Regions from separate parts of the Homo sapiens genome. Here region 2 is linked to region 1. Evidence: promoter capture Hi-C in 16 types of primary human blood cells and fetal thymus (Javierre and others, 2016). All regions are on one chromosome and are shown on one strand. Each heading gives the region's core, a stretch centred on a gene start or on the middle of the fragment in contact. The rest is flanking DNA. Distances are from core to core; before and after follow the strand shown.

Region 1 (5,773 bases), core at 898-3,397:
TGGCTTTCAGCCGGGCACAGTGGCTCATGCCTGTCATCCCAGCACTTCGGGAGGCCGAGGCGGGCAGATCACCTGAGGTCGGGAGTTCAAGACCAGCCTGACCAACATGGAGAAACCCCGTCTCCACTAAAAATACAAAATTAGCCGGGCGTAGTGGCACATGCCTGTTACTCCCAGCTACTCAGGAGGTTGAGGCAGGAGAATCGCTTGAACCCGGGAGGAGGAGGTTGCAGTGAGCCGAGATCGAGCCATTGCACTCCAGCCTGGGCAACAAGAGCAAAACTCCGTCTCAAAAAAAAAAAAAAAAAAAAAAAAGACTTGTTTCTCATAGCTAAGAGTTCCTGATACAGCTCTGCCTTAAAGAACTGGCAAATTAGTGTGCATTTGTGTTTCAATTTCAAATAAAATGTTTAAGGCAAAAAAAAAAAGTAAATGTTGTATGTCAGGGGATCCCCACATTACTGGCTTTGTGTGGAGACCATGGTTCCTTTGGGCTTGGCTCTTCCTCCCTGCACCAGTGCAGGGCCCCAGGAACACATCTGCCACACACGGCCGCCATGTCCCTCTGCTGAAGCTAGTCAGGGTCATCCTCACTCCTCAGTGACCCTCATGATGGCTCCACCAGGTAGGTACTTTTATTCTCCCCATTTAACAGGTGAGGACACTGAGGGGCACAGGGATGTAAGTTACCTTCCCTAGGTCCACTATCTAGGAAGTGGTGGGCCAGGGTTTGGTCCATGCTGTCAGCTCCTTGACCCTGCATCTATAACTACTAACTATACTGTGGAGAGCCTCATGAGCTCCTGCGAGGTGTAGAACCTTATCCCGCAGGCGGGGCAGTGGCATGGTCAGGTCTAGGAGTGAAAAGATCCTGCGATGGTTGGAGTTGCGGGCACTGAAGAGGTGAGCCTGGCGTTAGGGGGAGCAGGGGAGACCATCTTCCCCCTGGTGAAATCCTGTTCTAAAATTGGTGATACTCCTGCCTTGGCCTCCCAAAGTGCTAGGATTATGGCCTCATATCTATTTTTAAAAAATAAGAATTCAAGCTGGGTGCGGTGGCTCGCAACTGTAATCCCAGCACTTTGGGAAGCCGAGGCAGGTGGATCACTTGAGTTCAGCAGTTCGAGCCAGCCTGGCCAACATGGTGAAACCCTGTCTCTACTAAAAATACAAAAATAATTAGCCGGGCGTGGTGGCAGATGCCTATGTTCCCAGCTACTCGGGAGGCTGAGGTAGGAGAATCGCTTGAACCCAGGAGACGGAGGTTGCAGTGAGCCGAGATTGCACCACTGCACACCAGCCTGGGCGACAAAGAGTAAGACTCCATCTCAAAAAAAAAAAAAAAAAATTCAAAACCCATCGAGTTGGGATGACGCTTAGTGCTGGGCTTCAGGAAGAGTAGGCAGGAGGGTAGTATGGGAGGTTTCTAGGAGCCACTCTTGGAAGCGGTGCTCCCCACAGATGCCCGATTGCACTGACTGGAACTCGGTCACATGACCACATAACTCGCTCACATGACCACACCTAGCTGCAAAGGTGCTGGGAAATGTGGTACCCTGTTGGGAGGCCACTTCTGGGCTTCAAACCTTCACTGTGAATGGAGCTCACAGGTTTTCTAAAAATGGACATTAAATGAACCAGAGTTGGCCCTAAGGATCTGGCTCACTGCAACCTCCACCTCCCAGGATGAAGCACCTGCCTCAGCCTCCCGAGTAGTAGCTGGGATTACAGGCACACGCCACCATACCGAGCTAATTTTTGTATTTTTAGTAGAGAAGGTGTTTCACCATGTTGGCCAGGCTGGTCTCGAACTCCTGACTTCACATGATCCGCCTGCCTCAGCCTCCCAAAGTGCTAGGATTACAGGCGTAAGCCACCACGCCTGGCCTCAATATTTCTTTTTCTGGGTATTTGAGTATGATATTATATATGATGGTTATTAGACAGCCAGATGCATAGGAGGATTAGCTAATCTGTTTTGAGGAATACTTATCTCCAATATAGTTATATAACGACAACATTCTTTTTTTGAATACTGGTCTCGGGTGCCTAATGACAGAAGGGTGACATCACTAAGGAAGCCTGGAAAGTCCCAGCCCTCCACGTGATCCCACGGATGAAAATAGCTCCGGGTGAGCTCTGGAACAGCTGAAAAAGCTGGAGCAACCAAGCAGGGCCTACAAGCCGAGGAGGGCTGTTTAAAGGCGCAGGGGCCATTTTACCTCCAGGTTGGCCCTGCTCAGGACCAGGAGGAAACACCTCCAGCCCGCGACCTCCTCCCACAGGGGGAAAAGGAAAGCAGGAGGACCACAGAAGCTTTGGCACCGAGGATCCCCGCAGTCTTCACCCGCGGAGATTCCGGCTGAAGGAGCTGTCCAGCGACTACACCGCTAAGCGCAGGGAGCCCAAGCCTCCGCACCGGATTCCGGAGCACAAGCTCCACCGCGCATGCGCACACGCCCCAGACCCAGGCTCAGGCAAGCCGTGGGGGCAGGGAGGGCTGTTTCATCCCGCTGGGGCGGCCATAACCAAGTACCAGGGATTGGGTGCAATTAAATAACAGGATTTCTTTTTCTTTTTTATTTTATTTTATTTTATTTATTTATTTATTTTTTTTTGAGACAGCATCTCGCTCTGTCGCCTAGGCTGGAGTGCAGTGACGCGATCTCGGCTCACGGCAAGCTCCGCCTCCGGGGTTCAAGCGATTCTCCTGCCTCAACCTCCCGAGTAGCTGGGATTACAGGCGCACACCACCACACCCGGCTAATTTTTGTATTTTTAGTAGAGATGGGGTTTCACCATGTTGGCCAGGCTGGTCTCAAACTCCTGAACTCGTGATCCACCCCACTCGGCCTTCCAAAGTGCTGGGATTACAGGCGTGAGCCACCGCGCCCGGCTAGGAATTTATTTTCTAACACTTCTGGAAGCTAGAAGTCCAAGATCAAGGTGTTGGCAGGGTTGGTTTCTCCTGAAGCCTCTTGCAGAGGCCCTAATCTCTCCTTATAAAACCAATCAGGCTGGGCGCGGTGGCTCACGCCTGTAATCCCAGCCCTTTGGGAAGACGAGGCGGGCGGATCCTGAGGTCAGGAGATCGAGATCATCCTGGCTAACACAGTGAAACCCCGTCTCAACTAAAAATACAAAAAATTAGCTGGGCGTGGTGGCGGGCGCCTGTAGTCCCAGCTACTCCGGAGGCTGAGGCAGGAGAATGGCGTGAGCCCGGAAGGCGGAGCTTGCAGTGAGCCGAGACTGCGCCACTGCACTCCAGCCTAGGGCACAAAGCGAGACTCCATCTCAAAAAAAAATAAAATAAAATAAACCAATCAAACCAAATTCCAGGCCACCCTCAGGACCCCACTTTAACTTAGTCACCCCTTTAAGAGCCTATGTCTGGCCGAGTGCGATGACTCATGCCTATAATCCCAGCGTTTTGGGAAGCCAAGGTGGAAAGCTCTCTTGAGCCTAGGAGTTCAAGACCAGCCTGGGTGACATAACAAGACCTGATCTCTACAAAACATAAAAAATTTAGCTGGAGATGGTAGCATGTACCTGCACTTCCAGCTACTCGGGAGGCTGAGGTGAGAGGCTCGCTTGAGCCCAGGAGGCTGAGGCTGCAGTGAGCCACGATCACACCACTGCACTCCAGCCTGGGTGACAAAGCAAGACCCTGTCTCAAAAAGCAAACAACGAAAAAGAATCCTATGTCCAAATACAGTCACATTCTGAGGTTCTGGGGGTTACAAGTCCAACATATGAATTTGGAGGTGGTGGGGGGAAGCTGATTAATTTCATAAGGGGGGTCTTGAAACTGCCTTCGCAGAAATGTAAGTAATGAGAGAAAGCTAACATGACTGACCATCTTGTTTCTAACCTCACAGGCTAGATTTTTTTTTCTTATTCTAGTGCAGAGGCCAAAATTACCATGAGAGGAATTTAATTCATAGTTAAACTTTGAGACAAAGAAAACTGACCCCCAGTCCTTGTTGAGAGATTGAAGCCACATTCATTTACTTTTTATTTATTTATTTAGTTTTGAGACAGAGTTTCACTCTTGTTGCCCAGACTGGAGTGCAATGGCATGATCTCTGCTCACTGGCACCTCCACCTCCTGAGTTCAAGTGATTCTCCTCCCTCAGCCTCCTGAGTAGCTGGGATTACAGGCGCCCGCCATCATGCCCAGGTGACTTTTGTACTTTTAGTAGAGATAAGGTTTCACCATGTTGGCCAGGCTGGTCTCCAACTCCTGACCTCAAGTGATCCTCCCACCTCGGCCTCTTAAGGTGCTGGGATTACAGCCATGAGCCACTGTGCCTGGCCTGAAGTCACATTCATAAGACAAGGTTAGAATCATGAAGGTGCTGGAACTTTGCTAAAGAACAGTCGTGGGTTGAAGAATGACCTGCCATCCCTTAGCTTCCTTTTCTATATGTGCTCCAGAGTCACGTAACCAGGGGTCGCATGATTTATAACTTCCCCAGCTACTTCTATAAATAATATCACTGTCGTGAAACACAGAACTCAGCTTTTTAGTGGGGTGTGGTAGCTAACACCTGTAATCCCCACTTCTTGGGAGGCTGAGGCAGGAGGATTGCATGAGCCCGGGAGAATGAGACCAGCCTGGGCAACATAGTGAGACCTCAATCTCTACAAAAAAATTAAAACTTTGCCAGACGTGGTGGTGCATGCCTGTAGTCCCAGCAACCCAGGAGGCCAAGGCAGGAGGATTGCTTGAGCCCAAGAGTTGGAGGCTGCAGTGAGCTATGATTGCGCCACTGTAGGGACCAGCCCTGCAGGGTCTGTGGGTCTTTCTCCCCATGTGCGGAGACGAGAGATCGTAGAAATAAAAACACAAGACAAAGAGATAGAAGAAAAGACAGCTGGGCCTGGGGGACCACTACCACCAAGACGCAGAGACCGATAGTGGCCCCAAATGCCTGGCTGCGCTGTTATTTATTGGATAATAAGGGGCAGAGTAAGGAGTGTGAGTCATCTCCAATGATTGATAAGGTCATGTGAGTCACGTGTCCACTGGACAGGGAGCCCTTCTATGTTAGGTAGCCAAGGCGTAGAGAGAGAGGATAGCTTATGTCATTATTTCTTTTATGTTCTTTTCAGAAAGATCAAAGACTTTAATATTTTAATACTTTCACTAATTCTGCTACTGCTATCTAGAGGGTGCAGCCAGGTATACAGAGTGGAACAGGAAAGTGAAACAGGAGTGTGACCACTGAAGCACAGCATCACAGGGAGATGGTCAGGCCTCTGGATAACTGCGGGCGGGCCTGACATCACTCAGGCCCTCCACAGGAGGCGGTGGAGCAGAGTCTTCCCTAACTCCCCCGGGGAAAGGGAGACTCCCTTTCCTGGTCTCTAGGCACTGACGCAACCGCTAGACCAAGGTCCGCTAGGCAATGGGCATCTTCCCAGACGCTGGCGTTACCCCAAGACCAAGGGGCCCTCTAGTGGCCCTATTCGGGCATGACAGAGGGCTCACACTTGTCTTCTGGTCACTCTTGACCTCAAGTGATCTGACTGCCTCGGCCTCCCAAAGTGCTGGGATTACAGGCATGAGCCACTGCTCCTGGCAATAATGTTTCGTTTTGTTTTTGTTTTAAAAAAAAGAAATTGTCTTTGAGATAGTTTTCAGAGTGAGCATTTTGGCAGACCAAGAGCTACCACCTGGTCCTGAGACCCGCTCCCAGGAACTGACTCAGCTATACAAAGATAGTTTTGGACACACCTGTGATTTCATCCATAGCCGATCAATTGTTCC
Region 2 (5,773 bases), core at 1,703-4,202, 150 kb after region 1:
GGACAAAGGATATGTTTGCTATCCAGGCTGCATCATTGATGAAGGGCAAGTTTCTTGATCTCTCTTAAGACTCAGTTTCCTCATCTGTAAAGTGGAGATAGAAGTCTCATAGGTCTTTGTGAATCTAAAATAAGCTGATGCAGTCAATTCTTGCTGTATGTGGTAAATGTGTTCTAGAAAGTAGCCATGTACACTGAATTAGTGAATACCGAGCTGGTGCTTTTAGGGGAAATAGAAGGTTAGTTTCTTGAGAGCCTCTGGTCACAATGTTTTTGTTAACTGACTAATACATAACCTTCTTTTATATGTGTTTCTGTTTAAAGATGTTTCATTTAATACATAATGTCGATTCATTAGCACTGAACTCAAGACCAACAGGGCTGAATGCAGGTCTGAATGAAGCTTCTCTAATACACATATTTTCTCCATAAGGTGCGCCATAACCCCTTGCTTTTAGGACTACACTTGGGAGTCATTTAAACAGTGACATCGCCAAGAAAAAATACAAAAATGGGAAAAACATGAGACTAAATAGATCACAAGGACACTTGTTTATTTTTTGTTTTGTTTGTGTGTGTGTGTGTGTGTTTTGTTTGTTGGTTGGTTGGTTGGTTGGTTTTGAGACAGAGTTTCACTCTTGTTGCCCAGGCTGGAGTGCAATGGCGAGATATCAGCTCACTGCAACCTCCGCCTCCCGGGTTCAAGCAATTCTGCTGCCTCAGCCTTCCAAATAGCTGGGACTACAGGCATGCACCACTACACTCAGCTAATTTTGTATTTTTTAGTAGAGACGAGGTTTCCCCATGTTGGTCAGGCTGGTCTCGAACTCCCGACCTCAGGTGATCCGCCCGTGTCGGCATCCCAAAGTGCTGGGATCACAGTTGTGAACCACCACGCCCAGCCTGAAGGACCCTTGTATACACTGAAAGCCGAAACAAGAAGGTGGAGCATCACCTTGTTCAACCTCAGCAGGGCATGAGGGCATTGAACAACTCCAGTTCTTCCCTGCTGTTCACGTGTTCATGAATGGCCAAGAAAACAGTGAGTATATGCCTGGGCACAGCAGCTAATGCCTGTAATCCCAGCACTTTGGGAAGCTGAGGCAGGTGGATCGCCTGAGGTCAGCAGTTCGAGACCAGCCTGGCCAACATGGCGAAACCCTGTCTCTACTAAAAATACAAAAATTAGCTGGGTGTGGTGGTGCCTGCCTGTAATCCCAGCTACTCAGGAGGCTGAGGCAGGAGAATCACTTGAACCCGGGAGGTGGAGGTTGCAGTGAGCTGAGATTGCACCACTGCACTCCAGCCTGGGAGACAGAGTGAAACTCCGTCTCAAAAATACATTAATTAATTAACTAATTTAAAAAAAAAAAAACCAGAGACTCCAGGGGTAAGAGGAGGCCAGAGAACGGGACCCTTGCTCAGCCTGCAGGATCAGGGATCACTTCTAGGAAGGGACAAGGGACAACAACCAGGCTGGGTCCCGATAGTTTAATGACAATTAGGCAGGTGCAGAGGTGAAGGGGGATGGCAATGTCCAGAGGCCCTGTGACCACACACACACACACACACAAACACACACACACACACACACACACACACACAAACGCCCACCCTCCACTCTTAAACCTATCCATGCTTATGTTAGAAAACACTTAGGGCCAGGCACGGTGGTCCAAGCCTGTAATCCCAACACTGGGAGGCCAAGGCGGGTGGATCACCTGAGGTCAGGAGTTTGAGACCAGCCCGGCCAGCATGGTGAAACCCCATCTCTACTAACAATACAAAAATTAGCCAGGTGTGGTGGCAGGCGCCTGTAATCCCAGCTACTCAGGAGGCTGAGGCAGGAGGATCGCTTGAATCCGGGAGGCTGAGGCTGCAGCGAGCCGAGATAGCAACACTGCACTCCAGCCTGGGCGACAGAGTGAGACTCCATCAAAAAAAGAAAGAAAAGAAAAGAAAAGAAAAGAAAAGAAAAGAAAAGAAAAGAAAAGAAAAGAAAAGAAAAGAAAGACACACACTTAGGCCAGCTCTTTTCAAATGGTGAGTCATAATCTTCCATTTATCAAAGCACAACCAGCATTGTTTAAATTAAAAATACTGCAAACGTGGATGGAAAAACACAGAGTGTTTCATGTGTATGGCATGAGTTATTTCTAAAAAGGTTTAGAGATTGTATAGATAGATAGGGATGCCTAAATAGAAAGATATAGATGATGGATAGATAGAAGTCAGCTCATATTTTAAAGTCTATTCTTTCTATAGATTATGGTTAAAAAAACGGAAACATTGTCTTTGTGAACCCATAAATCTCATCTTAATCTTTCACAAAGCATAGGAAATCTTTTGTAAAGAATATGGCTGACTTGCTTTTCCGCTCTAGGAATGCTAGCAGAAAGCCATGCTTTTTGAAGTGAGCTTCAGGGTTCCAGTGGAGACAGGCAGAGCCTGGTGTGATTGAGCCCAGGTGGTGGCAATTAATCCCTAAGAAGCAAAGTGATACCAGGCAACAGGGTATAATTACTAATCAGATCATAGAGAATGGCTGGTGCAAGAGCGACATCTGGTGGTGATAATCATAGGTTTTTTTCAGAAATGAATTCAACTGACAGTTCACTTAAAGACATTCATTGTGGCCAGGTGCAGTGCTTCATGCCTGTAATCCCAGCACTTTGGGAGGCCGAGGCGGGCAGATCACGAGGTCATGAGATCGAGACCATCCTGGCCAACATGGTGAAACCCCGTCTCTACTAAAATACAAAAAATTAGCCTGGCATGGTGGCACACACCTGTAGCCCCAGCAACTTGGGAGGCTGAGGCAGGGGAATTGCTTGAACCCGGGAGGGGGCGGTTTCAGTGAGCTGAGATTGCACCACTGCACTCCAGCCTGGTGACAGAGCAAGACTCTGTCTCAAAAAAAAAAAAAAAAAAAAGACGTTCATTGCACAGAAGATCCACAGTATAACAGCCAGACTGGAACCATCGCGCTAGAGTCATGGCTTTTCTCCCAGTTCCAGGCACAAGACAGTTCACCAACTCAATGCCCCTTGAGTGAAGGCAAGGCTGGGTAACCAGGCACTGCTATAAGGCCATAGGCAGACACAGTAAGAAAATGCAAAGGGACCAGGCACGGTGGCTCACGCCTGTAATCCCAGCACTTTGGGAGGCCGAGGGGGGTGGATCCCCTGAGGTCAGGAGTTCGAGACCAGCCTGGCCAACATGGTGAAACCCCATCTCTACTAAAAATACAAAAATTAGCTGAGCATGGTGGCGCATTCCTGTAATCCCAGCTACTCGGGAGGCTGAGGCAGGAGAATCGCTTGAGCCTGGGAGGCGGAGGTTGCAGTGAACTGAGATCGCGCCATTGCACTCCAGCGTGAGAGACTAGAGCGAAACTCTAGTCTCTCAGAAAAAAAAGAAAGAAAGAAAGAAAGAAAGAAAAAAGAAAGAAAGAAAGAAAAAAGAAAGAAAGAAAGAAAGAAAGAAAGAAAGAAAGAAAGAAAGAAAGAAAGAAATTACAAAGGTAAATACATAAACTTTCCAGAGCCTACTGAATACTGGTTTTGAGCAAAGATTAGTTTTCAAGGACTAGGAATACCACTGATATCCAGTGATTAGAGTGGAAGATTATAGGAACATGAGACAGAGTCCTGAGTTAGGTTCACTTCTCTGTTAGCTCAGTGTGATACCAAATACTTTCTGCAATGATTTCCGCAGGGCCCAGGAGTAATACAGTTTGAAAAAAATATTTTCAGAAAGGCGTATGACTCACATCGGTTCCCAGACCCTTGGGCCCAGCTATTAAGATAGGGAAAAGTCACATTGCACGTCATCGTAGTTAGCCTCCTACGAGAATGGAGCGCGTGAAGAAACATTATGTTCCTTGGGAATTTCAGAGCTTGGTGGCACCAACAAAGACATGAAAGACTGTTGTCAAACTCTATTCATTTATCTAAATGGGACAGTACAAAAAAAATGCTGAGGCTTAAGCAATTACCATGATTTATTTTTATGTCATTCAAGTCAACCGACTCCTTCTGTAGCTGCTCTTCTACATTGATCTTATTCCTGGAGACTCTGGACCTGGGTAAGCACCTACTTAGAGTGTGTAGTTACATGCCCCCATTCTAAATGCAGGAGAAGCTGATAAACACAGTGTAGCCAAGCAGCCATGTCATCAGCTTTCATTGTGTTACAATGATGATGAAGCGGAGAATGGGCTTCTGTAAACTCTCCTTCATGGCTCCTAGAACATAATCCACTTCCTGGCACTGGAAGAGCATCTTGCAGTGGGGTCATTCTACAGAACTGACTTCCTCCATGAGACCTTTTTTTTTTTTTTTTGAGTCGGAGTCTTGCTCTGTCACCCAAGCTGGAGTGCGGTGGTGCAATCTCGGCTCACTGCAACCTCTGCCTCCCGGATTCAAGTGATTCCCCTGCCTCAGACTCCCAAGTACCTGGGATTACAGGCCCCCACCACCACATCCAGCTAATTTTTGTATTCTTAACAGAGACGGGGTTTCACCATGTTGGCCAGGCTGGTCTCGAACTCCTGACCTCAACTCATCCACCTGCCTTGGCCTCCCAAAGTGCTGGGGTTATAGGTGTGAGTCACTGCATCCGGCTGCATGAGACATTTAATACTTACCCGTCTTTAACACACTCATGCAAAATTTGTGCAGGATATTGCTACATGCTCAAAAGCTCTCAGTGATTCAAAGAACACAAACTTGCTTACGAATGTTAAACCACATAAAAGTTGGAAATTGAAAAAATTGTCCTTTAGAAAATTTCAATGTATTCTATTCCATTGGTCTATGTGGCTGTCTTTATGCCAGCGCCGCACTGTTTTAATTACTGTGGTTTTGTATTAAGTTTTGAAATTAGGAAATGTGAAGCCTCCAACTTTGTTCTTATTTTTCAAGATTGTTTTGCCTATTCATTTTTTTGTTTGTTTTAGACAAAGTCTTACTCTGTCACCCAGGCTGGAGTGCAGTGGCGCCATCTCAGCTCACTGCAACCTCTGTCTCCTGGATTCAAGCAATTATCCTGCCTCAGCCTCCCAAGTAGCTGGGACTACAAGCATGTGCCACCATGCCTGGCTAATTTTTGTATTTTTGGTAGAGACAGGGTTTCACCGTGTTGGCTAGACTGATTTTGAACTCCTGACCTCAGGTGATCTGCCTGCCTCAGCCTCCCAAAGTGCTGGGATTACATGGTATGAGCCACCATGCCCAGCCTGTTTTGGCTATTCTGAGTCTCTTGAGATTCCGTATGAATTTTAGGATAGATTTGTCTATTTCTGCGAAAACAAAACAAAGCAAAGAACCTTTATAACTTTTGTAGGAATTGCATTGAATTGGTAGATTGCTTTGGGTCCATACTGACATCTTAATAGTATTAAATCTTCCAGTCCATGAACACGGAATGTCTTTTAATTTATTTATATCTTATTTAACTTCAAGTCTTTTACCTCCTTGGTTAAATTTATTCCTAAGCTTTGGGAGGTTTTGGTGTTATTATAAATGGAATTGTTTCTTTTTTGGATTCTTCGTTGTTAGTATATAAATGCAACTGATTTTTATGAGTTGATTTCATATCCTGCAACTTTGCTGAATTCATGTATTAGTTCTAACACATTTTGTATGTAGAATCTTTAGAGTTTCCTATACACAAGATCATGTTTTCTGTGAACAGAGATAATTTATTTCTTCCTTTCCAGTTTGGTTGCCTCTTACTATTTTTTCTTGCCTAATTGCTCTGGCAAGGGCTTC

What was found. The method cuts DNA at HindIII sites, captures the fragments that hold promoters and counts their contacts. A CHiCAGO score of 5 or more calls a contact.
Region 2: a contact is called between a fragment that was not itself captured here and the fragment with the promoter of PLA2G4C in region 1, in 12 of 17 cell types (megakaryocytes, M1 macrophages, M0 macrophages and 9 more). The highest score is 10.3, in megakaryocytes.

The regions. Positions count from the first base shown.
Region 1 is chr19:48,107,191-48,112,963 of GRCh38, reverse strand. PLA2G4C (phospholipase A2 group IVC) reads left to right here and starts at 2,147. Exons shown (of 17, transcript NM_003706.3): 1 at 2,147-2,477. RefSeq lists an enhancer at 2,172-2,331. The HindIII fragment of the contact is 20,185 bases long and covers 1-2,318 here.
Region 2 is chr19:47,960,132-47,965,904 of GRCh38, reverse strand. No RefSeq gene overlaps it. Among named protein-coding and RNA genes, the nearest start is that of SNAR-C1, 7.3 kb to the right of the region's middle. The HindIII fragment of the contact is 5,095 bases long and covers 405-5,499 here.